Regions from separate parts of the Homo sapiens genome. Here regions 1, 2, 3 and 4 are each linked to region 5. The links are contacts of gene promoters, found by promoter capture Hi-C in human tissues and cell types (Jung and others, 2019). All regions are on one chromosome and are shown on one strand. The core of a region is centred on a gene start or on the middle of the fragment in contact, and the rest is flanking DNA. Distances in the headings are between cores, read along the strand shown. Region 1 overlaps LINC02123 (long intergenic non-protein coding RNA 2123). Region 2 overlaps ADCY2 (adenylate cyclase 2). Region 3 overlaps LOC105374645 (a long non-coding RNA gene). Region 4 overlaps ADCY2 (adenylate cyclase 2). Region 5 holds the start of ADCY2 (adenylate cyclase 2).

Region 1 (2,700 bases), core at 201-2,700, 50 kb after region 5:
ACGGGCTGTTGGGGGCTGGGTTTTGGTAGGGCAAGAGGGCCCCGGATGGAGTGATGGACACTCTAACTCACTACTCCGCCGTCCAATACAGTCCAGATTGTTCAACAACTCTGAGAATAAATGGTCTTTTTTAAAAAATTGGTGTCAAACCTACTGTACTGGGTTGATGTGAAATTGAAATTGAAATAAGTTGTATATAAAATGTCTGGCACATAGTAGTGATCAATAAATATTAATCCCTTCCCCAGACCAATGCTGTATTTCCATTTCTGGGGCACATGCCACATTGTCTAAATCAATGTTTTATTCACTCATACATCAAAGATAATGGAAACACTTATATTTTAGAAAGAACTTACTGTACATTTTATATTCTTTTTGGTAAATTGAATAAACACTCTTCAGAGATATATAAACCTAGATTTCCTGATAGACTTTGCATTAGAACATTGGTGGAAGAGAATGCACCAGAAAATCTCCTCTTTAGGTGCCCACTTCTGAGCTTTAGTCCTCCAACCCCAGAGGCCTAGTTACTCAGCCCAGAGTTCAGTGGGGCCGTGGGAGAAGTGGATGAGCTAGTTCCCTAAAGCACAGGCATGGGGGAGGCATGTCTCTGTCATACTCAATCATCCTAGCACGGGTGTGAGGGACATGTGAAAACGGGAATATAGATGACGCGAAGGTGCAACTGGGCTCCGTTTGGAGTCTTACCCAGTTCATAACTCAATTATCTCTAAGGAATATGCAGAAAAATGTGTTTATTTATTTATTTTATTTTTATTTATTTATTTTTTGAGACAGAGTCTTGCTCTGTCACCCAGGCTGAAGAGCAGTGGCACGACATCAGCTCACTGCAACCTCCACCTCTTGGGTTCAAGCAATTCTCCTGCCTCAGCCTCCAGAGTAGCTAGGATTACAGGCGCCCGCAACAACACCTGGCTAATTTTTTTGTATTTTTAGTAGAGACGGGGTTTCATTATGTTGGCCAGGCTGGTCTTAAACTCCTGACCTCAAGTGATCTGCCTGCCTTGGCCTCCCAAAGTACTGGGATTACAGGCGTGAGCCACTGTGCCTGACCAGAAAAAAAAAAAAGTGTTTAGAAGAATAGATATTTGAAAAAACAAAACTAGTAATTTGCGAAACATCTAAATAATAATAATAATGTCAACCCTGTTTTGACTGCTCGTTACATGCCAGACACTGTTCTAAGCATTTTATATGTATTCACTCACACAATCAGCCCAACAATCCAATGAAACAGGTACTATCATCATCCCCATTATAGGGATTAGCAAAGTAAGGCACATGGGACATTCAGTGAATTGTTCAAGATCTGAAGCCAAGTGGCACAGCAAGTATTTGAATCCATGGTACACCAGGTTCTGAGCCTGGGCTCCTGACTGTTAATTTGTTTCATTGATTAACATCCTAGGGATTGTTTGTACAATTTTTTGCCCGAAGAAAAGCCCTTCACTAATTCCCAAGTTTAAGTTCATAGATTTGTTTAATCATTACTGGTGCAGGGTATTGGGTAACTGGAGTAGTTTCAGCAAAAAGCAATTATGACTTCATTTGAAATCCAAGTAGATTAGGCATGGTTGATTTTATTTTCAATGGAAAAACCTTTCAGTTGGGTTTATTGGTCATTGTTTTTCAGTGATTTGTTTGCCATTGACATTAGTCGTGTTGTGTAACAAAGAAGTGTCCATTAACTTTGATTAATTGTCTCTTACGCCGAAAGTCCTAACCACGCAGTGCTCCACTGATACCACTTGAAGGGCAGAAGCGGAGGGGTGGGCTTTGGGATTGAGAAGAGCCTTTGGATGCTCACTTAACTGTAATTTCAGAAGCACAGACAAGCAACAAGATGACAACTATAATAAAAACAAAATAATACAAATAATATCAGTGGCAGCCTTTACCCAGCAGTGGCTGTGCCCAGCCTGTTGCGTGTCCTGAGATGTGGGAACTCATCTAAGCCTCACCCTAGGAGGAAGGTCCAATTCATCCTCCCATCTTACAGAACTCTAAAAGTTATCCCAACTTTACTCAAAGCAAAATCCTCATGGCCATATGGCTTTGATACAGTCCTGGACACCACCATTTCTGGTGGCAAATTCACAGCAAAGTAATGTCCCTGAACTTCAGCTTCCCATACCCTCCTCAATTCTGCAAATGGCAATACCCAGAGCTGCTGATGTGTTTCATGAAAGAACTCTAGGGAAGTAGGGAAGTGCTCAAAGGATTTCTGCCACAAGATGGTCAATAAATGGAAGGCATTATTATTGCTATCTGGAATACCCTAAAAAATGATCAAGCTGAGTCCGGGCGCGGTGGCTCATGCCTGTAATCCCAGCACTTTGGGAGGCCGAGGCGGGCGGATCACGAGGTCAGGAGATGGAGACCATTCTGGCTAACACGGTGAAACCCCGTCTCTACTAAAAATACAAAAAATTAGCCGGGCCTGGTGATGAGCACCTCTCGTCCCAGCTACTTGGGAGGCTGAGGCAAGAGAGGGGCATGAACCCAGGAGGCAGAGCTTGCAGTGAGCCAAGACTGCCCCACTGCACTCCAGCCTGGGCAACAGAGCAAGTCTCCGTCTCAAAAAAAAAAAAAAAAAATGATCAAGCTAAGATTGTTATTTAAAGTTTACCTAAAACCCAATTTTTCCTCTGAGCAGCTTCTGATAATGGTGCCAGG
Region 2 (2,700 bases), core at 166-2,665, 33 kb before region 5:
AGTGAAATTGCACATATCTATTCAAATTTACTTCTAAGTATTTCCTATTTTTGAGTTTATATTAAATGGTTTTTTTCCATTTCTAACAGATGATTCCAATATGTAAGACTACAAAAGCCTTTTTGGCATCTGCTGAAATGGTGACACACAGTGCACCTGTTGAAATTATCCTTAAGGTGGTGAATCACGAAAATTGATTTTAAAATATTAAACCAACTCTGCATTCTTGAGATAAACTACATTTGTTCATGTTATCCTTTATATATATACACTATATATATAGTATATCAATATACTATATATATATAGTATATATATATACATACACACATGAACATATATATGTGTTACTAGATTAAATGTGGTAATCACTTGATAAATTTTGATTTGAATTTTGGTTAGAATGTTTGTGTCCATGTTCCTGAAAGATACTGGTCTGTAGTTTTCTTTCTTTGGAATGTCTTTGCTTTTATCAGAGTAATGGTGGCCCCATGACATGAGTTGGGAAATGCTTCCTGTTCTATTTTGTGGATGAATTTCTGTAGAATTGAGATTACTTATTCTTTAAACTTTGGTATAATTCACCAGGGAAGCCATTTGGACCTGGAGCATTCTTTATAGGAAGATATTTAGCTACCTATTCAAATTATTTCTACATATAGAGCTATTTCATTTATCTATTTCTTCTTGAATGAGTTTTACTGGTTCGCTTTTCAATAAATTTGCCCATTTTATCTATATTGTGAAATTTAATGGAAAGAGTTGCTCATAATATTTCCTTATTAAACTTTTAAGGTCTGTAGAACCTATAACAATAACCCCTTTCATATTCCTAATATCAATCATTTTATCTTCTATCTTTATTCCCAATCAGTCTTGCTAGAGTTTCACCAATTTTACTAACCTTCCCAAAGAACCAGTTGGGATTTCACTGATTATTGTTTTCCTGCTTCCAATTTTGTTGTTTTCTGTTCCTTTTAATTTGTCTTCCATTTTCTTAAAGTGAAAGTTCAAGTTACTGATTTCAGTCCTTTCTTCTTTTCAGCATAAACATTTAATGTTATCACTTTCCTGCTAAGCACTGCCTTAGGTGCATTCCACAGATCGTGATACAGCATGTTTTCATTTCATTGAATTCAAGATACTTTCTAATTTCCCCTTAATTTCTTCTTGGACTCATGGGTTATTTAGAACTGTGTTGGTTAACTTCCAATTATTTATTAATTTTTCAGACTTTTTAATGTTATTGATTTGTAATTTAAGTCCATTATGCCCAAAGCACATACTTTGTATCATAACAACCCTTTTAAACTCAGCAACACTTTGTTGCCCAGAATATGGTCTATCTTAGTAAATAAATGTTCCACATGCATTTCAAAGAAAACACACTCTTCATTGTTGGGACGTGTTCTATAAAGATGAATTAGGTCAACTTGTTTAATGGGACTTTTCAAATCTCCTATATCCTTATTCATTTTCTTTCTTCTTGTCTCAGCAGTTATTGAGAAATGGGTACTAAAATCTCTGAGTAAACATGGATTTTTACATCATGTATTCTGAATTTCTCTTACTAGGGGCACAGGTATTTGAAACTGTTAGCTCCTCCTGAGGTACTAATTCCTTTATCAGTAGGCAATGTCCCCTTCTCACTGTACCTGCTCTTTCAGGGCCTGTGCGAGTACCAGAAATTATTTCACCTGCTCTTTCCTGGAGCTTTTTTCTTTGGCCTCAGTAGATTGCTCTTAGGCATGTGCCTGTCAGTACTCTGCTGATGAATTGGTGGGACCCTCTACAAATCACTAGAGCTCTCTCTCTCTCTCTCTCTCTCTGTGCAACTCTTCTCATACCTCTTGGTATTCCATCCTGAGAATTTCAGCACCTTTGTCTTCCCAAACTCAGAATTCTGTTTCCTCAACTCAGTGCAATTAGCTGGGCTCTGTTTGGGTCCCCTCCCTGTGTCACAGCCCACGGACTCTCTCCAGAAAGGAAACTGGAGCAATCCTAGAGTTCACTTTTTTTGTTCCCCTTCTTATCAGGGTCAATTTCCCATAGTATCCTTTGACCCATGTCTTAAAGCCATTGTTTCAAGTATTTTGTCCTGTTTTTTAGCTGTTCAAGGTGGGGAGGTAAATCAGGACTCAATTTCTGCATCATGTTTGAACATGGACATACAAAACACTATCTACTTGGGAATGAAATTATCCCCTCACTGGTTTTAACAGAATACTTATTAATCTCAGCTTTGAATTTATTGGACAATAAAATTATGAAACCCAGCTTATTGAAAAATAATTCAATTTCACATAATTTATACCAGTACACAGTGTGGTATGTATTAATGGAAACTTGGGAACTAAAGCTTTTCTTTAAAATGGAAGCTGAACTTAAGCAAATGAAAATGGTTATAAATCATATATCATGGAGTGAAAAGCCATTTATTTAGCAGAAAAAACTCTATCTTTGGCTTAAGATAGTTTTTGGTGTTTTTCCCCCTAACAAAGATAAGCAGCCACTTAAAAATTATGCCTTGTTTCCTCTACTTTTCTCATTGATTCTCTCTGAGGTAGGCAGCATTCCCTGTGTTTCAGATGGCTGGAGATTCCCTCCTGCTAGTATGAATTTTTTGCCTGAAGCAAAGTCATGATATAGAAAATGTAAGTGGTCCTCAGATCTCCATCAACCTGCTACCAGCAGTTCAAA
Region 3 (2,700 bases), core at 3-2,502, 33 kb after region 5:
TCCCTTAGTGATTTGGGAGTCCCAAAATTTATTTTCCTTTCACAGATATTCCAAAAAAGGAGATATAAACATGACCATAAAAGACATGAAAAGATGTTTAACCCCATTAGTCATCGTGGAAATGCAAATGAAAACCACCATACAGACACTAGAGTGGTTTAAATTTGAATGACTTCCAACACCAAATGCCAGACAGGACATAGAGCAACTGGATGTCTCATGCTCACAGGTAGGAATGCAAAATGGTGTAACTTCTGTAGAAAACTAATTGGTAGTTTCTTATAAAATTAAATGTGCACCTACCTTATTTATGATCCAGCAATTTAACTCTAAGGTATTTCTCTAGCAGAAATGAAACCATATGCCTACACAAACTACTTGTACACTAGTGTTTATTGCAGCTTTATTTATAATAGCAAGAATGTTAAACAATCCAAAAATCCATCAACAGGAGAATAAATAAACAAATTGTGATATATTCATACTATGGAATAATAGCAGTAGAAAGAAATGAACTAGTGGTGCACACAACATGGATGAATACCAGAAATACTATGCTGAGTGAAAGCAGGCAGACTTAGATATGATATCTAGACATTTCCTTTTTTATGAAGCTCCAGAACATGCAGAGCTAATCTATGGGAACATAGTTCAGCATGGTGGTCTTTCTAGGTATGCGAAAGAGAATATATGCCAATAAACATGAAAGACTTTCTAGGTTGAAGGCAGTGCTATATGTCTTTACTGGATGTTGTTTCCACAGGTACATACATTTTTAAAAAATATCACAGTATGCACTTAAGATCTGCACATTTTACTATATGTAATTATACCTCAATAAAAATTTTTTAAAAACCCTAAGTATCACAACTGTTATGAATATTTTCTTGGTTTATTAAATGAGGCATTCAATCAAATATGCATTTTGATTGCATTATGAATATGAAACATGCTGATTACCAATTCATATTCATTTGGAAACCTACAGGCAGAAGGGAAAACTACTGTGTGTGACAGGAAGATGGACTTACCCAACCTTCAGCATTCTCAATCTCTTGTCTATTAACATGGTAATTGCCTTTAATGACTTTGTTCTCCTCGGTGTAATCAGACAGGAAACTTTAGAGGGAAAATGCATAAATTATTCTAACCCCTGCCAGGGAAAGAATCCAGACTTTAATCAACTTCTGTGCATTTTATTCTTCATATTAAAAAAGCTTTCTTTACATTTGGACTCAATCAACAAGCTCTCTTGTCTAGAACAATCCTTGTTTTGTGCTCCCGTCAGTAGGACTATGTCCCCAATGTAGAAGACAAATGGCCTTCTTGTTCAAAAAGGGTCATCTATAGTACTGAAAGTTATGCAAACTCATTTGGTTCTCTCTGCCCTTTTCAAATAGCATCTCATAACAGTATCAACACTATTGATGGTGCTAATTTTATATAATTCTTTTCAGTGTTTGAAACATTATGCATTCAAAGCAAACATCTGGGAGGAAGATGGGAGAAGCCTTCTTGCCCCTGTTCTACAGAAGTAATTGAAGTTCATGACATTCAAGCTCATTCACCAGTAAATGAATTTGGGTCATGCTTTATGTCTGTTGTAAATACAGTGAAAATTTGCCTCTGTTCCTGAAGCATTTCTAAATTGAACTTCCCTCACTTTTTGAAAAACCTATACAACCCACACTCTCAGTATTTGAGACACCAAGGAGTTGCTGCATTTAAGTTCTCTATCTAACACAGTAATCCTGGCCAGGAATTGGATGGGAGACTTTCAGGTGGAATCCACCATGGAGCCAAGGAGGATAGAGAACAATGCATGATTTTTGACAGGTCTTGTTTGCAGTCTGGCCCACAAGCTGTGTCACAGTGAAGTAGGTGGTAAAACAAATGAACACCCTTCCTTTTCATTCTGAAACAGGCTGCCTCTTCTATTGATTTGCATTTCAGCACTTATTGGGTTAAGGAAACACTAAACATAAATATTCTATTTGATTCTACACCACATTATTCTAAATGTCGATTGTCGAAGAAACATCCTATACAGGGTATGTTTCCTGTCCAAGTATTTCCAGGGGAACTCAGTGTACACCTATGTTACAGGGAAAAAAATAACTAAGATAGCACACTGTGTGGTGTAAAGAACTGTCACCAGTGTAGAAAACAAGTTTCAGCCTTGGAAAGTTTGGGGTCAGGAATGAGTCCAGGTATAAAGCCTAACACAAGGACAGCCTTAGATCAATAACCTAGACAAATAATGTCTTTAAACATCAGCTTCCTCATCTGCAAAATGAAGATAATGATATAGTCCTATGTATAACCCAGGGGGGGACCATCTACTGAATTGGAGAATAAACAGAAAGCATTTTTTGAAGCTTAGAGTTACGTGCAGCAAAAATTGTGGTTTCCATGGCTTTTTGCTGTTGTTTCTCAGCCTTTCTGAAGTGCTGATGGGTCTGGACTTCTTCTGGACTCATCTCTTGGGTTATATTCATCCTTTTAAATACCACAGGCTTCTTCTAATAAACATTTGGTTAGAGGGCCATTGCTGACTTTTTGGGGGTTTTTTAGGTGCCTTTATTTTACACCATCTTTTTGAATGGTCAATTTGTATACATGAATGCCCACCCTGACAGCAATGGTGTGTATATAAGTAGAAAAGAGAAAATAGGAACTGTTTCTTTCCCACAGAGGAGT
Region 4 (2,700 bases), core at 45-2,544, 53 kb before region 5:
TTGTCTACTTTGAAAATCTGTCATTTAGTGTGGCCACCTTCATCAATGATCTTAGCTAGATCATTCAGATAACATGCATCAGCATTTGCTGCTTCACCTTCCACGTTTATGTTAAGGAAATGATGTCTTTCCTCAAATCTCATGAAGCCACCTCTGCTAGATTCCCACTTTTCTTTGGTAGCTTCCTCACCTTTCTCAGCCTTCATAGAATTGAAGAGAGTTAGGGCCTTTCTCTGGATTAGGCTTTGGCTTAAGGGAATGTTGTGACTGATTTGATCTTCCAGCCAGACCACTCAAACTTTCTCTATATCAGCAATAAGACTTGCTTTCTTGCCATTTGCGTGTTCACTAGAGTAGCATTTTTAATTACCTTCAAGAACGTTTCCTTTGGATTCACAACTGGGCTAACTGTTTACTGCAGGAGGTCTAGCTTTTGGCCTATCATGACTTAAGACATACCTTCCTCACTAAGCTTAATCATTTCTAGCTTTTGATTTAAAGTGAGAGACATGCAACTCTTCCTTGCATTGAACACTTAGAGGCTACTGTAGGGTTATTAATTGGCCTAATTTAAATATTGTCATGTCTCTGGGAATAAGGAGGCCTGAGAAGAGGGAGGGAGATGGAGAACAGCTGGTCAGTGGAGCAGTCAAAAGACACACAGCATGTATTAAGTTCACCGTCAAATGTGGCTGCGGTTCGTGGTGCCCCAAAACACTTAAAATAATATCAAAGATCATGGGTCACAGGTCACTATAGCAGATACCATAATAATGAAACTTTTCAAATACTGTGACAATGACTAAAATGGGACACAGTGACATAAGTGAGCACAGGTTGTTGGAAAAATGGCACCAACAGACTTTGTTGACACAGGGTTGCCAAAAACATTCAATTTGTAAAAAATTCAGTATCTGAGAAGTGCAATAGAACAAAGCACAATCACATGAGGTGTGCCTATACTGTATATGGAGTTGGTTGTTGCCAGTGTGGAAAATCAACTCCTTTTCTTTCCAGCTCCTATAGTGAGTCATTATGTATTACAATAGGGGAATACAGATATTCCATTTTATTTTTATGTATTTTTTGGCTATTCATATTTAGTAGCACAGCCTGAAAGTGAAGCTGGCACCTCTTGGTTGTTCTTGTTCTGTTTTAAACTAAAAAGTACCAGGCTGATAGAGTTCTGCATAGGAAAAGGTAAGGCAGAGGTGCTCTTTTGTTCACCCCAGTATCAAAAATAGTACAGAATACACTGAAAACACATTTGAAGTACTCATTTTAAGAAGAATCATGTTTTTGTTTCTCAGTCTATTTTGGGGGACAACATTTCTTAAAAGAAAAATTGGTTTTTCTGGATTGAATGAATTGATGGATTTGCTTCATGAGATTCTGAACTTGAGAAGATAGCAGTCATTAGAGAAATGCAAATCAAAACCACAGTGAGATACCATCTCACACCAGTCAGAATGGCGATTATCAGAAAGTCAAAAAACAACAGATGCTGGCAAGGTTGCAGAGGGAAAAAAACGCTTTTACACTGTTGTGGAAATGTCAATTAGTTCAACCATTGTGGAAGACAGTGTGGTGATTCCTCAGAGGTCTAGAAGCAGAAATACCATTTGACCCAGTAATTCCATTGCTGGGTATATACCCCAAAGGAATATAAATCATTCTATTATAAAGATACATACACACATATGTCCATTACAGCAGTATTCACAATAACAAAGACATGAAATCAATCAAAATGCCCATCAATGATAGACTGGATAAAGAAAATGTGGTACATATACACCATGGAATACTATGCAGCCACAGAAAGGAACAAGATCATGTCTTTTGCAGGGACATAGACGGAGCTAGAAGCCTTTATTCTCAGCAAACTCGGGAACAGAAAACCAAATACCACATGTTCTCACTTATAAGTGGGAGCTGAATGATGAGAACACATGGACACATGTGGGGGAACAACACACACGAGGACCTGTTGGAGGGTAGGGGAGGGAGAGCAACAGGAAGAACAGCTAATGGATGCTGGGCTTAAAACCTAGGTGATGGGAAGATCTGTGCAGCAAACTGCCATGGCACACGCTCACCTGTGTAACAAACCTGCACATCCTGCACATGTACCCCAGAACTTAAAAGTTGATGAAAAAAAAAAATAATGAATGAATCTGATCAACACCAACACACCTACAGCTGTTACAGGCCTTACATAAAATAAGTCAGAGCCATCTGCTACACAGAGAGAGACTCAGGGGAGAATCTTTTTGCACCAGAAACTCTGAGCACGAGGGAAAAGGACAGACAGCACCTGACCTGGGTCTGGCACACGACATTCTTCAGAGACCCTTCTGCATCTTTAATGTATTCTCCTGATAACTCCTTTGAGACAAGTAGGACAGGGTACTTAGCTCTTCATATTGAAGGAGCTCCAGAGCTGCAGCTGAGGGAAGCAATAACCAGAAAGACCCCATCCCTACCTCAGGGTCTTGTGGGATTAGAAGAAGCCAGAGTTCCAGGTGTCCCCAGACAGCACACAGGGTTTGCACACAAGAGGGCCTGTTGTAAGCAGAGCAACTTCAGAGGGGTGCTTGTGCCAAGATATTTGGGAGGCCTCTTCAAGGGACACCCTCTGGTCACCGTGTCTGTGGAAGTCTTGGCCAAGCTCTGCAGCTGCCCCCTCCCTTCGGTAGG
Region 5 (2,754 bases), core at 59-2,558:
CTCACTGGTGGATAATCAATGCCTCGCACAAAATCTGCACATGCATGTCACAGGCAGTGCAAAAGTTTGAACCACACACTCAGAGATCAGTAACAGGAAGTTATCGCCATCTACAGACTTCCCCTCACTTTTCAAGGGAGCGAGCCAAGGATTTCTGCTTGAAAAATATAAACTGGCAAAACTGACATCAGCTGTTGAGCTGCATTATACTCCTCGTGATGAAATCCACTTTAATAACCTGTCCAAAACCCTAAACACGTTACTTCTTTAGAAACGGGAAAGCAATCGTCCGTCCCAAACGCTTCTTAACTGTAGTCTCTGAGATGAAAGATTGATTCACAAGTCAACACCACATCACTTTCCGTCTATCGGGCTAAAGAGCTAAATGCATACAGATTTAAAGGCAAAGATGTATACTTAATTTTTCTTCTTCATTTTCCTTGTCATTAACCACTTTCCCAAGGCAGGCTTTCTGCAGAGTTGAATAACGCCCAATCCCAACTAAAATGCCAACTGTGGGGCCATGCCAGTGGAACCGGGCAGGAGACAGCGACTCGCCCAGGAAGCCCAGGGCTGAGTCGGGGAAGACCTATTCCAGCGCTGCGGGCAGCGGTGCCCGGCGGAAAGCGCAGAGTTTGCCAGCGGGTGCGCAAAGATGCAAAAAGCACACGCCCTGCCCGTCCACCTGGTGAACACCTCGGGAACTTTATTTTGGGAAGAGCCTTCCCAGGAAACTTTTCTCCCGCCCGCAGCCCTTGCCAGAGTCCACCGGGCCGCGGGCCAGCAGGAGAAGCAGGGAGCCGCGGGCCGAGGGGCTGCCGCGGGCCGAGGGGCTGCCGCGGGCCGAGGGGCAGCCCGGAGCGGGACGCGGCTCGGCTGGCCGGGCTCCTCTCAGGGCCGGGGAAGGCGCGGCGCTGGACCCGCGGGGAGGCCACTCACCAGCCCGAGCGCGAAGAAGACGGCGAGCAGGGCGAGGCAGGAGCCCATGACGATGAGCAGCAGGAAGACGATGAGCGGGTGCTGCTGGCTCATGCAGTAGTAGGACTCGTAGAGCCAGTCCCGGGACCGCGGCAGCCCGTCTCCGCCGCCCGCCGCCTCCTCGGAGCGGTCCCGCAGGTAGCGGCGGCGCCGCATCGCCTCCTGCCACATCGGGGCCGCTCACAGGGCGCCCGCCGTGCGCGCCCGGCCCGGGCAGCGCCGCTCGCCGCGGCCGCCCGCGTCCCACCCCCGCGCCGCCTCGGCCGGCCCGGCTGCCGGCACCCGGAGCTGCGCGCAGGGGCCTCCGGCGCGGGCGGAGCTCGGCGCCCCGGGCTGGGCGCGCTGACGCGCGGGCGGGGGCCGGGCGGCGGCCTCGGGGGCAGCTCCCGGCGCCGCCGCCGCCACCGCCACCGCGCGGGAGGGGGCGGGTTCCACGGGGCCCTCCGCCCGCCGCTCCCCGCCCCGCGCGCAGCCGGCCTCCGTGCAGGGGCGGTGTCGGCCCCCACCCGACGGCCCGGCTGCAGGCTGGGGACGGCGGGGGCTGTACGGTGGGGGGAGTGGCGAACTGAGGGGCTCCCGCTGCGCCCCGGCCCGGGGTCGTCCTCGCCCGCCGGCCTCCCACACTCAGCCACCAGGTCGTCCACCTCCTCTGCCCTATCCCGAGTGCAGCGTGGGTGGGGTGGGAGGGACGGCCCTCCCCGCTACGAAGTGAGAACACAGCCTAAGGGGTGGAGGGAGGGAGTCCTACCCCCACCACTCCCCCCGCCCCACCTGGCTCGGAGCACTGCGGGGCTCCTCAGCTCCTCTCCACTACCTCAAGGTCAGCGGGCAGGGACGCTGCCACCCTCCTGTTTCCTCCACCCCTTAGTGGGCTGCGGGGCCTGCTCCCACCCTCCCCCACAGTCACAGAGCGCAGCCGGGGTCAGAGGACCCGGGGGGTCCCTCCTTTAGTACGCGGGTCAGAGGACAGCGGGGTCTCCCTCCTTTTCACTCTTTTGGGGAGCTGGAGAGGATTTCCCACCCTTCCCGCCTCCCCGCGGTGGGCACCGGTTTGCCGTCCAGCCCTTCTTCCCCTCAGCGTAGCAGGGTTGAGGGCTCCCCCATCCTCTCCACCCTCTTGAGAGGGCCGGGGCTCCCTGCGAGGGCGGCAGGGCGCGGAAACGCCAGGGGACCTAACTGGAGACCGGCACCATGTGGAAGTGAAGCGGCAGTGACTGCACTGGGAGCCCCCGCCACGGCCTCGCGGGGGCAGCGTCCGTTGCGCCCTGCACGCTCAGCTTCAGTCACACTTTGGAGGTGCCGTATAAGCCTGTCATATCACAGGTTTACAGAGCTGCCCCGTGGCTGGTCGTGGTCCTCGCCGAGCCCCTCTGCTGAGCGGGGATGGCGGCAAAGGGGCGCCGGGGAGAGCGGCTGGGCGCGGGAGCGGGCGGGTCGGCCCTGGGAGTAGCTCCCTCCCTGTCACCTTGGGGGCCTGGACGCAGGAGGCGCTAGAGACCCGGCAGGAGCGTTGTGGGGGCGGATGTCACCAGGGACAGTGTCCCCTCCCGACACGCGTGGGAGCGGAGGCCGCTGGCCTTCGCCCTGGGGGCCGAAGGGGCTTCATTGCTTATCACCAAAGGAACCCACCCTTCTGGAAGTTTCCTCCTATTCGAGTGTGGTCCGGCCCAAAGAGCCCCCAAATCCCACCTCCTCCCCCAAAGCCTTACCCCAAGGAATCCAAGGCACAAGAGCCCTCCCTTCTCCTGCCACCAGCGAGCATCCCAGAGGGCAGCC

Evidence for each region. Contacts are between HindIII fragments. The study calls those that stand out against the background at their distance.
Region 1: a contact is called between a fragment that was not itself captured here and the fragment with the promoter of ADCY2 in region 5, in 1 of the 25 tissues and cell types used here (mesendoderm cells).
Region 2: a fragment that was not itself captured here is called in contact with the fragment with the promoter of ADCY2 in region 5 in 3 of the 25 tissues and cell types used here (dorsolateral prefrontal cortex, hippocampus and pancreas).
Region 3: a fragment that was not itself captured here is called in contact with the fragment with the promoter of ADCY2 in region 5 in 2 of the 25 tissues and cell types used here (spleen and thymus).
Region 4: a contact is called between a fragment that was not itself captured here and the fragment with the promoter of ADCY2 in region 5, in 4 of the 25 tissues and cell types used here (H1 embryonic stem cells, dorsolateral prefrontal cortex, mesendoderm cells and 1 more).

The regions. Positions count from the first base shown.
Region 1 is chr5:7,344,807-7,347,506 of GRCh38, reverse strand. It overlaps LINC02123 (long intergenic non-protein coding RNA 2123), which reads left to right. Exons shown (of 2, transcript NR_134277.1): 2 at 1-521. Among named protein-coding and RNA genes, the nearest start is that of LINC02123, 1.8 kb to the left of the region's middle. The HindIII fragment of the contact is 3,992 bases long and covers 1-2,700 here.
Region 2 is chr5:7,428,144-7,430,843 of GRCh38, reverse strand. The region is part of intron 2 of ADCY2 (adenylate cyclase 2); the gene reads right to left. It overlaps LOC105374646 (a long non-coding RNA gene), which reads right to left. Exons shown (of 2, transcript XR_925763.3): 2 at 1,558-2,700. Among named protein-coding and RNA genes, the nearest start is that of ADCY2, 33 kb to the right of the region's middle. The HindIII fragment of the contact is 3,476 bases long and covers 1-2,700 here.
Region 3 is chr5:7,361,873-7,364,572 of GRCh38, reverse strand. It overlaps LOC105374645 (a long non-coding RNA gene), which reads left to right. Exons shown (of 7, transcript NR_188260.1): 5 at 46-229; 6 at 989-1,070; 7 at 1,458-1,631. Among named protein-coding and RNA genes, the nearest start is that of LINC02142, 9.9 kb to the left of the region's middle. The HindIII fragment of the contact is 4,428 bases long and covers 1-2,700 here.
Region 4 is chr5:7,447,938-7,450,637 of GRCh38, reverse strand. The region is part of intron 2 of ADCY2 (adenylate cyclase 2); the gene reads right to left. Among named protein-coding and RNA genes, the nearest start is that of ADCY2, 53 kb to the right of the region's middle. The HindIII fragment of the contact is 5,071 bases long and covers 1-2,700 here.
Region 5 is chr5:7,394,692-7,397,445 of GRCh38, reverse strand. ADCY2 (adenylate cyclase 2) reads right to left here and starts at 1,308. Exons shown (of 25, transcript NM_020546.3): 1 at 940-1,308. The coding sequence starts at 1,149. LOC107986403 (a long non-coding RNA gene) reads left to right here and starts at 1,497. Exons shown (of 2, transcript XR_001742597.2): 1 at 1,497-2,754. RefSeq lists enhancers at 1,227-1,992, 1,993-2,754. The HindIII fragment of the contact is 8,449 bases long and covers 1-2,754 here.